Regions from separate parts of the Homo sapiens genome. Here all the other regions are linked to region 1. Evidence: promoter capture Hi-C in human tissues and cell types (Jung and others, 2019). All regions are on one chromosome and are shown on one strand. Each heading gives the region's core, a stretch centred on a gene start or on the middle of the fragment in contact. The rest is flanking DNA. Distances are from core to core; before and after follow the strand shown.

What was found. Contacts are between HindIII fragments. The study calls those that stand out against the background at their distance.
Region 2: the fragment with the promoter of KRT82 here is called in contact with a fragment that was not itself captured in region 1 in 2 of the 25 tissues and cell types used here (mesendoderm cells and thymus).
Region 3: a contact is called between the fragment with the promoter of KRT76 here and a fragment that was not itself captured in region 1, in 2 of the 25 tissues and cell types used here (bladder and lymphoblastoid cells).

The regions. Positions count from the first base shown.
Region 1 is chr12:52,646,225-52,649,279 of GRCh38, forward strand. It overlaps KRT2 (keratin 2), which reads right to left. Exons shown (of 9, transcript NM_000423.3): 4 at 2,783-2,878; 5 at 1,949-2,113; 6 at 1,506-1,631; 7 at 516-736. Among named protein-coding and RNA genes, the nearest start is that of KRT2, 4.5 kb to the right of the region's middle. The HindIII fragment of the contact is 3,386 bases long and covers 1-3,055 here.
Region 2 is chr12:52,404,819-52,407,873 of GRCh38, forward strand. It overlaps KRT82 (keratin 82), which reads right to left and starts at 1,517. Exons shown (of 9, transcript NM_033033.4): 1 at 1,049-1,517. The coding sequence starts at 1,459. The HindIII fragment of the contact is 10,212 bases long and covers 1-3,055 here.
Region 3 is chr12:52,775,827-52,778,881 of GRCh38, forward strand. KRT76 (keratin 76) reads right to left here and starts at 1,519. Exons shown (of 9, transcript NM_015848.4): 1 at 866-1,519. The coding sequence starts at 1,465. The HindIII fragment of the contact is 5,333 bases long and covers 1-3,055 here.

The DNA.
Region 1 (3,055 bases), core at 377-2,876:
ACAGAGGAAGCAAAGGGTGCCTCTTTGAAAGTTAGCAAATGGTTCCATTTGTCACTCCAGAAACCTGCAAAGAACTGGGGCTGGCACCTGCTCCGGTCAGCACGTCCCCACCAGTCAGCACATTCCGAGACATCATCTCCCCCATTCTGGGTCACCCGGTGGAGGGCACAGAAGCCACTCACCCTATGGACCTAGAGACCAAAGTTTCAGACTGTCTAGGACTAACCTGTTTTCCCATGATTTTGTTTTCTCTTTCAGAAAAGACCAGGATGTTTAACTTACTGCTTAGTTTAATTTAATGTGCCTTATGCATCATTTCATGTTGATAAATGTGTAACTCTCCAATCATGCTTTATGTCCTGAGTTTCTGCTTGGGGAACACAGAGAATGTCAGTTCTCAGTTGTCAGGAGGGCCTGCCCCATTCTCTGCTTTCCCTGTCTTTGCCTCCAGCCCTGGCTCTGGGAGAGATGAGAGGAAGGGCCAGGGTCCCCTTCTCCCTTCCCAGTGCCCTCACCTGCACTCCTCGCCCTCCAGCAGTTTGCGGTAGGTGGCGATCTCCACATCTAGGGCCAGCTTCACGTTCATCAGCTCCTGGTAGTCACGCAGCAGCCGCGCCAAGTCCTCCTTGGCCTGCTGCAGGGCCTCCTCCAGGTCATTCAACTTGTTCCTGGCATCCTTGAGGGCATGCTCCCCACGCTGCTCGGCATCTGCGATGGCATCTTGCACATTCTTACACTATGACAGAAGGACAGAGAATGGATTCTGCCTGACGGAGGCGGACAGAGAGCAGAGGTGTTCGAAGTGCAGGAAGCCAGAACCACTGGCCCTGGGAGTGTTAGGTCCCCTCTGGAGTTTAGTCGCAAACAACTGTGCTAAGACTTGCCGCTGTCTCTGGCACATCTTCTTCCCATGTCACCGTTGATGACACCCTTTGGCTTTCCCCATAGTGCCCTTTGATCCTCACATCACAGGGCCTGAATCATGATCCCATTTTACAGATGGAAATGAAAACATTTGAAATGGTCTGCTTGGCAAAGCTTCTGCTGCTGATGGAATCCACTCTCTGCCTCTACCTTTTCTATTCCAAAGCTAACGTCCAGCCCCAGGCCAGCTGCCCTCAATACTCACTGCCCCTCTATGAAACCAGTCGGCTGGTGCTCAGGGCCTGTGCTGAGCACAAACGGGAAGCTCCATCGGCAATCTGCAGCAAATCAATCAAACTAACGTTTGCTCTATTTGTTATGACTCCCTTTTCCTCATATAAACAAGTGAGCACAATTCTTTCCCTTCGATAATCCTTACTTTGGAATGTCTATTAGAGCACTCTAAGAATTGTTATAATAAGCCATAAATTATGTTAAGCTGGGGAATTTGGGATCGATACATGCTAGAGTGCAATATCTCAGTGTCTCTCATCTCTCACATGCACACTCACACACAACCACACTCTCACGCACACCCAGAGACAACCTCCCGCCCCTCGCTGGACAGGGCTGGGCCTCACCTGCTTCTTCACATGTGCGATCTCCCCCTGCAGCCTCTGGATCACGCGGTTCAGCTCGCTGATCTCTATCTTGATCTCTTTCAGGCTGTCTCCATGTCTCCCGACAGTCACCTGGAGCTCCTCATACTGATATGGGGAGAAGAGGACAGTTTGCAAGGAAGTTCCAGCCTGGCTCACATTCCAGACTGACTGGAGTGAAGGAGAGCTGGTTACTGGTCCAGGGAGGGTCAACCCAGCTAAATGTCATGGCTGCATTCATGAGAGGTAGGGACTGTCTCACATGCCCAAAAGGACTTGGTGCCATTCTCAACATCCTTTCTTGGGAATGGTGCCCAACTACCATTAAACAAAAAACCAATAACCTTACTGTACACTTTCCAGCTGGGGGTGCAACCCAGCTCATGGCAGGGAGCTGTGGCTCTTCCTACATTCCCTCTACTTGCCTTGCTGTGGTACAGGGCCTCCGCTTCTTCCTTGCTCCTCTGGGCGATCTCCTCATACTGGGCCTTGACCTCGGCGATGATGCTATCCAAGTCCAGGTTGCGGCTGTTGTCCATGGAGAGGATGACGTTGGTGTCAGTGACACTCTGATGTATCTGGGATATCTCCTACAACACACAGGAAGGTCTGGTCATGACATCCTGCCATAGCTACAGGCAGACAGGAGGCCTCTGTCTCCCAGCATAAGGGAAACGCAGACCCTCAGACTAAGCATACACTAGGTGGGATGAAAATCATGTAACCGTCTACTCCTGGGCCTCTCCCAAGGTTGTCCTGAGAATTGTAGTGAGAGGCACCTGTATTTCTGAGCCTCCTAGTTAACATTCAGCACTTAAGCCAGTTATGGTAAGTGCCCCCAGACAGAAGCTTGTCCATGGCAAATACCTTAAATGGACTTCCTGTTTCAGAAATCATCTGTGCACCCTTGGGTTGGGGAGGGGGATAGGAGACAAATGCATTTTGACCTCTGAAGTACAGTAGGCACAGGAATGGGCACAGGGCTTGTCTCTTCCCCAGGGGAAATGGACATCTGGGGAATGGAGGGAGGGGAAGCTGTCCTGGTGTTTCCTGAACCTTATTCCCATAACATCGGAGGAGAAAATTCCTCACCCACAAGACCTATGCTATGAAAGCCCCCCCAGTGGCCTGGAATGATGGCAGATTGAAGTCAGCTGGTCCATAAACCCCACTTCTGCCACTTTTTCACCAAGCAGAAAGGACTTTCATTTGGTGAGAAGGGTGGGAAGTAAGGGACTGTCCCGGAGCAGCCTCCTTACCGCATCATAGAGAACTTTCAGAAACTCAATTTCCTGGTTCAGCAGGTCCACCTTGGACTGCAACTCCACCTTTATCATGTAGGCATTGTCCACGTCCTGCAAGAAAGGTTGAGGCCTCTGGTGTATGGTTCCCTGTACAGGCCTCTTCCTCTCTCTGCCACTCCCCTCTACTCAGTCCCTGCTGGCTCCTCTCTAAAATCCCAGGCTCCCCAACCTGATCCCTGTCCCCATGGGACTTCTTTTGTCGTGCAGTTTACCATACACCTCTGCCAG
Region 2 (3,055 bases), core at 267-2,766, 240 kb before region 1:
GAAGCACTTTGGCATATATTACCTCCTCTAATCTCCCACCGTCATTCCTCCCCTTCCTCACTGGGCAGCACCGTCCAAAGGCCAAGAGGTGAATGGCTTGCCCGGGGATTCCGGGTGTAGGAGTAGAGTCAATGCCAGTGGCCAGGGCTCCTGACCTCTGGCCCAGGACTCTTGCCCCTAAACCTTACGGTCACCAGAAACACCAGCTCAAACTGTGGAATGAATCCTCACCCCAAGAGCCTCCCTGGGGCGTGGGATGGACCCAGAGGCTGTTGAGTCCTTCAGCACCTTCAGAAGGCATGCCACATCTTTTCCTGCAGTGGGTGCTGTACTGTAGATGTGGGAATCTGCGCTCTTCCTGCAGTGGGTGCTATACTGTAGATGTGGGAATCTGCACTGTTCCTGCAGTGGGTGCTGTGCTGTAGATGTGGGAATCTGCACTGTTCCTGCAGTGGGTGCAGATTCAGTTCAGCACCTTCTGAAGGCATGCCTTCCTAGCAGCCTTTCAGTGGCTCTGGAGATGACAGATGTAAGACTTTTGTGACCGTCACCCTGTGCCTCTAGCTCTGACTGTCCACTTTCCTCTCATCCCAGGCCTAAAATGATTGGAAACTCTGAGGTCACAGTGTCCATCCTCACCTTCAGGCTCAAGAGTTGTGACACAGCTCAGGCACACAGAAGGCGGTTCTACTGTTAAAGCCTCATCAGGAAGGGCATTTCTCTGCCTCTCTGGTCATTCCTTTCAGTATTGCTTTGGAAGTTCCTCTTATAGTCTGACCTCAGGCAACCTTGGTGATTGGTGATTTTGTCAGATAATATTCAGAGAAAGATGATATATTTTAAGAAAGACAAGGAAGCAGAAATGTTTAGTGCAGAATCTGATCTAACTGGCTTTCAAAGGCTGGTGGTCGTGGAATGTGAGGGAGGCCACTGGATAAACTGAGGCCTCCTCAATGTCAGTCTCCTCCTGGTTCCCTTGGACCAGAACAAGACCAGACCCCAGATCTGCAGTGGGTCCTCTCACGGCCCTGGGCCACTGCCCCCTTACCTTGTTGATGAAAGATGCGAAACGGTTGTTGAGGCACTTGATCTGCTCCTTCTCATCCCTCTTTACCCTCTGCACAGTCGGGTCTATCTCCAGTGCCAGTGGGACCAGCAGGCTCTCATTGATGGTGACAGGGGTGATGCAGGCAGAAGGCCCACAGGTGGCTCCCAGTCGGTACCCGAAGCCAGGCAGGGTACCTCCACACCTGGAGGCTACCCGGGGCCTCCCAAAGCCCACGTTGCACAGGCTCCGTGAGCCAAGGCAGCCCAGAGCTCGGAGGCCCCTACCACCCCCGGGCCGGCATGGCCCCTTGCTCACTGCATAGTGGGTGACCATCCGGGGCATGACAGCCGAGTATGAGCTGAAACTCTGACTGCCACACCTGGAGCCTGGCTGGAAAGAGTGGTACGACATGGCAGGAGAGAGAGGCAGAGAAATGCGGCCCTGGAGGAAAGAACCGGGGCAGGATGATCAAGTCAGGCTCAGCTTCCCCCCTTTTATCTGGTAGGGGGATGGAGGACTGAGATGTGTCAAACCCCAAATCACCATTAAACTAGGTTTATGAGCTTGGGATATTGGCAGAGCTAAGTAGCAAGGTGGATAATTAGGGTAGCGAAGAGCAAAGAGAAGGGGCCAATGGTCAGTGCTGGTGGGCCCTATAAAAATCCTATTTGTCCTCCTTCCTTGATTGTGGGGGTGATGAAAGGGGCCAACCAGACAGATATGTTCCATGTATCCAGTGGCTCAGCCTCAAGGAAAGGGAGAGTTGGGACTACGTCATTTCATAGGAGGGGAGGCGTGCCATGAATTATACACCCTGGCTTCTCTGGGATTAGAGGGCAAGTCCCATATGCTTAAAGATGCTCTGGCTCTTTCCCCAAGGCTGCTCCTAGGCTTTTTTGCAGATCCTCAACCCAAGTGCCCTCTGTGGGCTCCTAGGTGAGTCAGGAAGTTCCCAGGAGGAAGGCTTTTGGGGTGGGAGAATCCTCCCTACAACAGGCCGGACCTTAACCCTCCTGAGCTCTGGCTCAGTGACCCACTGTCCCATGAGGGTCTTGAAGGTAGACAGACTCCAGGCATAGACACTTTTCTACAGGGCCCATCAGTCCACAAAGGCTGCAGGGAACTCAAGAGGAGAGGCCTGGTGCTTGAGAAGGGCAGAGGAAGGGACGCTCTCCTCAACACTTCTGGGGCCCCCAGAAGGCATGATTTCAGCATCAGGTCTCGGCTTCCATGTGGCTGTTCCTTTCCCCTTTTGCCCAACCCAGCCTGAGTGTCCCTGAGGTCAACAGAGCCAGCTTTGGCCTGAGGATGTCTCTGGGGAGAGTTGTTGCCCTTGGGAATTTTCAGGTGGAGGTGGGATTCAGGTTTTCTTTCCAGCTCAGGTCGCAGACACAGCTCTTTGGAGATGTCTGAAGCCCCCGCCTCACTCTCTTTCCTCCTCTTTTCCATCAATTTCATCAGTGAAACTTTTGCCATGGCCGAATGGCCTTTCCCTTCCACACTGAGACTTATCACCAGGTCAAAATCAAACCAATAATAATAATAATAACAATAATAAACATTTATTGGGCATTTATTGTGTGTTGGGACCACTCCGTACTCTTTACATCCATGGTCTCATTTAATTCTCTGACCACACAATGAGATAGTTACTATGCCACAGACAGGAAAATGGGAAGCACAGCAGTTAAGAGCAACATCCCCAAGTCACACAGCTTGTGGCTGATCAGCTGGGAGTCCATCCTGTTCCTTTTGACTTCACCCTGCCATGCTGCTCCACAGCAGGGAAGCCCAGGTGAGGAATTGGGAATCTGCTGCCCATAAATGTTCTGTTGTCCCTGTCCGTCAGCCTTCCAACCTGTGGATTAGGAGACTGGAACTCAAAGGTTTCCTGAGCCTCAGAAATTCTCAGTCTCATTGTGACATTTCACACTCCCTGTCCCCTTTTTCATAGTCCTGACTGTGGGCCCCAGAGTAGTGGAGGAGGAGGGGTGCAAGGCGAGACCA
Region 3 (3,055 bases), core at 269-2,768, 130 kb after region 1:
ACAACCACCTATAAAGGAGTTGCTGTGATCCCCATTTTGTAGATAAGGAAACTGAGACTCAAAGAGTTTAAGTTTCCCAAAGTGACAAGTCTACTGAGTGACAAAGCTAAGAATCAAACCCAGGACTGTCCTGGGTCTATAGGGATCCTTCAGAATACCACTGAAGGAGGTAAGCACAAATAAAGTTTGTCATTGTTTTTTAGATGTAAGCTTTTTTCAGCTCCATAAAGGCAGTGAATACAGTCAATGAGGTCTAACATTTCTTTAGAAGTTTCACATAGGAAGACCTCCTTTCAGTTATTCAGCTTGCAGCTGAACTAGAATTCACTTCAGATCCTGGGCTCAGTCCCACACAGACCCAGAACACCCTCCTCTGCCCCAGCATGGACAGCTCAGTTTAATTATTGGCTGAAGCACAGCATCATCTGGAAGGTAAGGCAGCTGCCAATGCACCTCATTTAGATGCAGCCTCAAGATCTGTGCTAACACAAGGTTTTGATTACCAGCTACTTTGGATTATCAAGCAATTGCTTTTCAGGAGAAATTAAAGTAACTGCAATAATTTCATGACTAAAATGGCTCATTCTTCAAAAAGCTAAGAGCATGTTTGGACCCCCACTTCATTTACCCTCATCTCATTCTTAGCAGGAAACCAGGACCAGGAATTCTTCCCCCCATTTCACAGCTGGAAAAAGAAGGCCCAAAAAGTGAAAGGGGCATGATCACTGTCCTGTAGGGACCAAGACAGCACCAGGACAAGAGCCAAGCGCCCCTGCCCTGTGTCTCACAAGTCCCCATGGCATCTTTCTACACCGACCCCTGGGCACCCCAAACCCTCCACAGCACCTCTTGGCCTTGCCCTCACCTTGTCGATGAAGGAGGCAAACTTGTTGTTGAGGGTCTTGATCTGTTCCCGCTCCTGGGCCTTTACTTGCCCAATCTGGGGGTCGATCTCCACATTGAGGGGCTGCAGGAGACTCTGGTTTACAATCACTTCCTGAATTCCCCCAGGAAAGCCCCCAGGGCCAAAGCCACCAGGACCACCAAAGCTGCCAGGCCCACCAAATACACCAGGACCACCAAAGCCACCAGCTCCACCAAAGCCACCAGCCCCTCCAAAACCACTACCTACTCCTCTGCCACCACCAAAGCCACCACCATAGCTGCCCCCAAAGCCACCTCCATAGCCACCTGCAAAGCCACAGCTGCTCCGCCCTCCCCCAAAGCCTCCAGCCCGGGAGCTGCCAGCTGCCACGCTGATGGAGATGCTCTTGTTGCTGCCCAGGTTGTAGAGGCTGCGACTGCCAAAGCTGCCTGCTCCGCTCCTGAAGCCACAGGCCCCTCCACCAGCTCCCCCAGAGCGGGCCACACAGCTCATCCTGCTGCTGCCGGAGACCACAGCAGAGCGGCCAGAGAAACCCTGGCTCCTGCCACTGAAGGATTTCTTGCAAACTTGTCTGTTCATAGTGAGAGAGCTTGGAGGCAAGCTAGTGATCACTTAGCAAGAGCTGAGAGGGATAGGGACAAGAGAGGAGACTGGCCTTTATATAACAGGGAGTTTGGCTTGGCAAAAGGAGAGGCGAGCAATTAGTTGAGAATCATCTTGGGTTTGGTTTGCCTCGTAGGCATTAAGTTACTTCTTGGTTCCCAACACACCTCAGAGATAATCCTCTGGGCCAGAGTGGCTTTGCTTTCTTAGCTTAATCACCTAAACTTGCCTCAGTTGACAAAATGCTGGAGCTCTCCTCCCTCCCTTTTTGTGCTGTCCTCAAGGGTTTCAGGGAACCCAAGCAGCACCTGATCCAGCAGGAGGAAGCAGCTTTAGACACCAGGTGATCCGGAGCCATGAGCTCCCTGACACAGGGGGGTGAGGACCAGGCAACCTCTTCTGAGTGGGCTGGGTCCCTCCCTGCAGCACCACAGTGTCCACAGGCTCCCACAGTGGCTGCGCCCGTCTCTGCCATCATTAGGCCTTTTCTTCCAGTGGCATGTCACCTGTTCCCAACTCTTCAGAGGGCCTGGAGTGGGAGCGGAAGTGAGAGGGGCCCAGACCCATAGAGTCTGCTCTGCCAGCACCTCAGCCAAAGGCATCCATCTCAGCAAACCTGGAGTTTGGGCTGAGAAATGCTACTTATGGGGAAGAAATTACAGTGGAGGTAAACACGTCTAGCTCCTGGAACAGGGAGCAAACAAGTATGAGGTTTGGGAAGAAGAGGGGGCATGCACTGTGGAGAGCCTCAGACCAAGCCCTCCCCCCACCATCCTAGACTGACAGCAGGCAATTTCTGGACCCAGAAGCAAGAGGAGACAGAATCTGGTAACCCTCCAGCTGGCTGGTAGAGTCGGCTCAAGCACCCCATTCATCTTAGGAGGACAGTGTATCTTGTGTCTAGGCCCCAACTCAGATCTTCTGGAGGGGATCCCCTCCCTGCTTTACCCCCTGGTCTGGGTCAGATGCCCCTCCTTGTCTTCCCACCATACCCTGTACTTTTCCCATCGTGAACCTGACATAAAGTATACTTACCTGCTTACTTGTCCATACCCCTCCGGTCCCTGAGCTTCTTGAGGGCAAGGCTTGAGTCCTGCCCATTCTAAATTATCCTAAATGTCCAGCTCCTAGCATAGGGTAAGCACAGCACAAACGTGTTAACTGACTGATGACTGATGTCTAAGAATGCAAATACCTAAAACCAGCTCCCACCCCAGCCCTATGAATGAAAATCTTCAGAGGAAAGGGTTGAGAGTTTGCATTTTTAACAAGCCCTCCAGGTCATTCTTATAATGCGGAAAGTCTGGGAAACCCTGGTCTAGACCATGGCTACACCATATGGGCCAGGAATAGGAGGATGGAGGACCCCTGATGGCAGAACGAATGACACATGATGAGTTACTGCTGTCACTGCCAAGAGCTCAGCAGACCCCAAACCCCATCCAACCCACCTCCGCACCCAAACACACCACACAGGGCAAGACCAAATCCTCAGGTTGTCGTCTGCATAGGAGATTTCACACATATGACAGGAGCAGGTGGCACTGATTCTAGACTCCCTGAGAA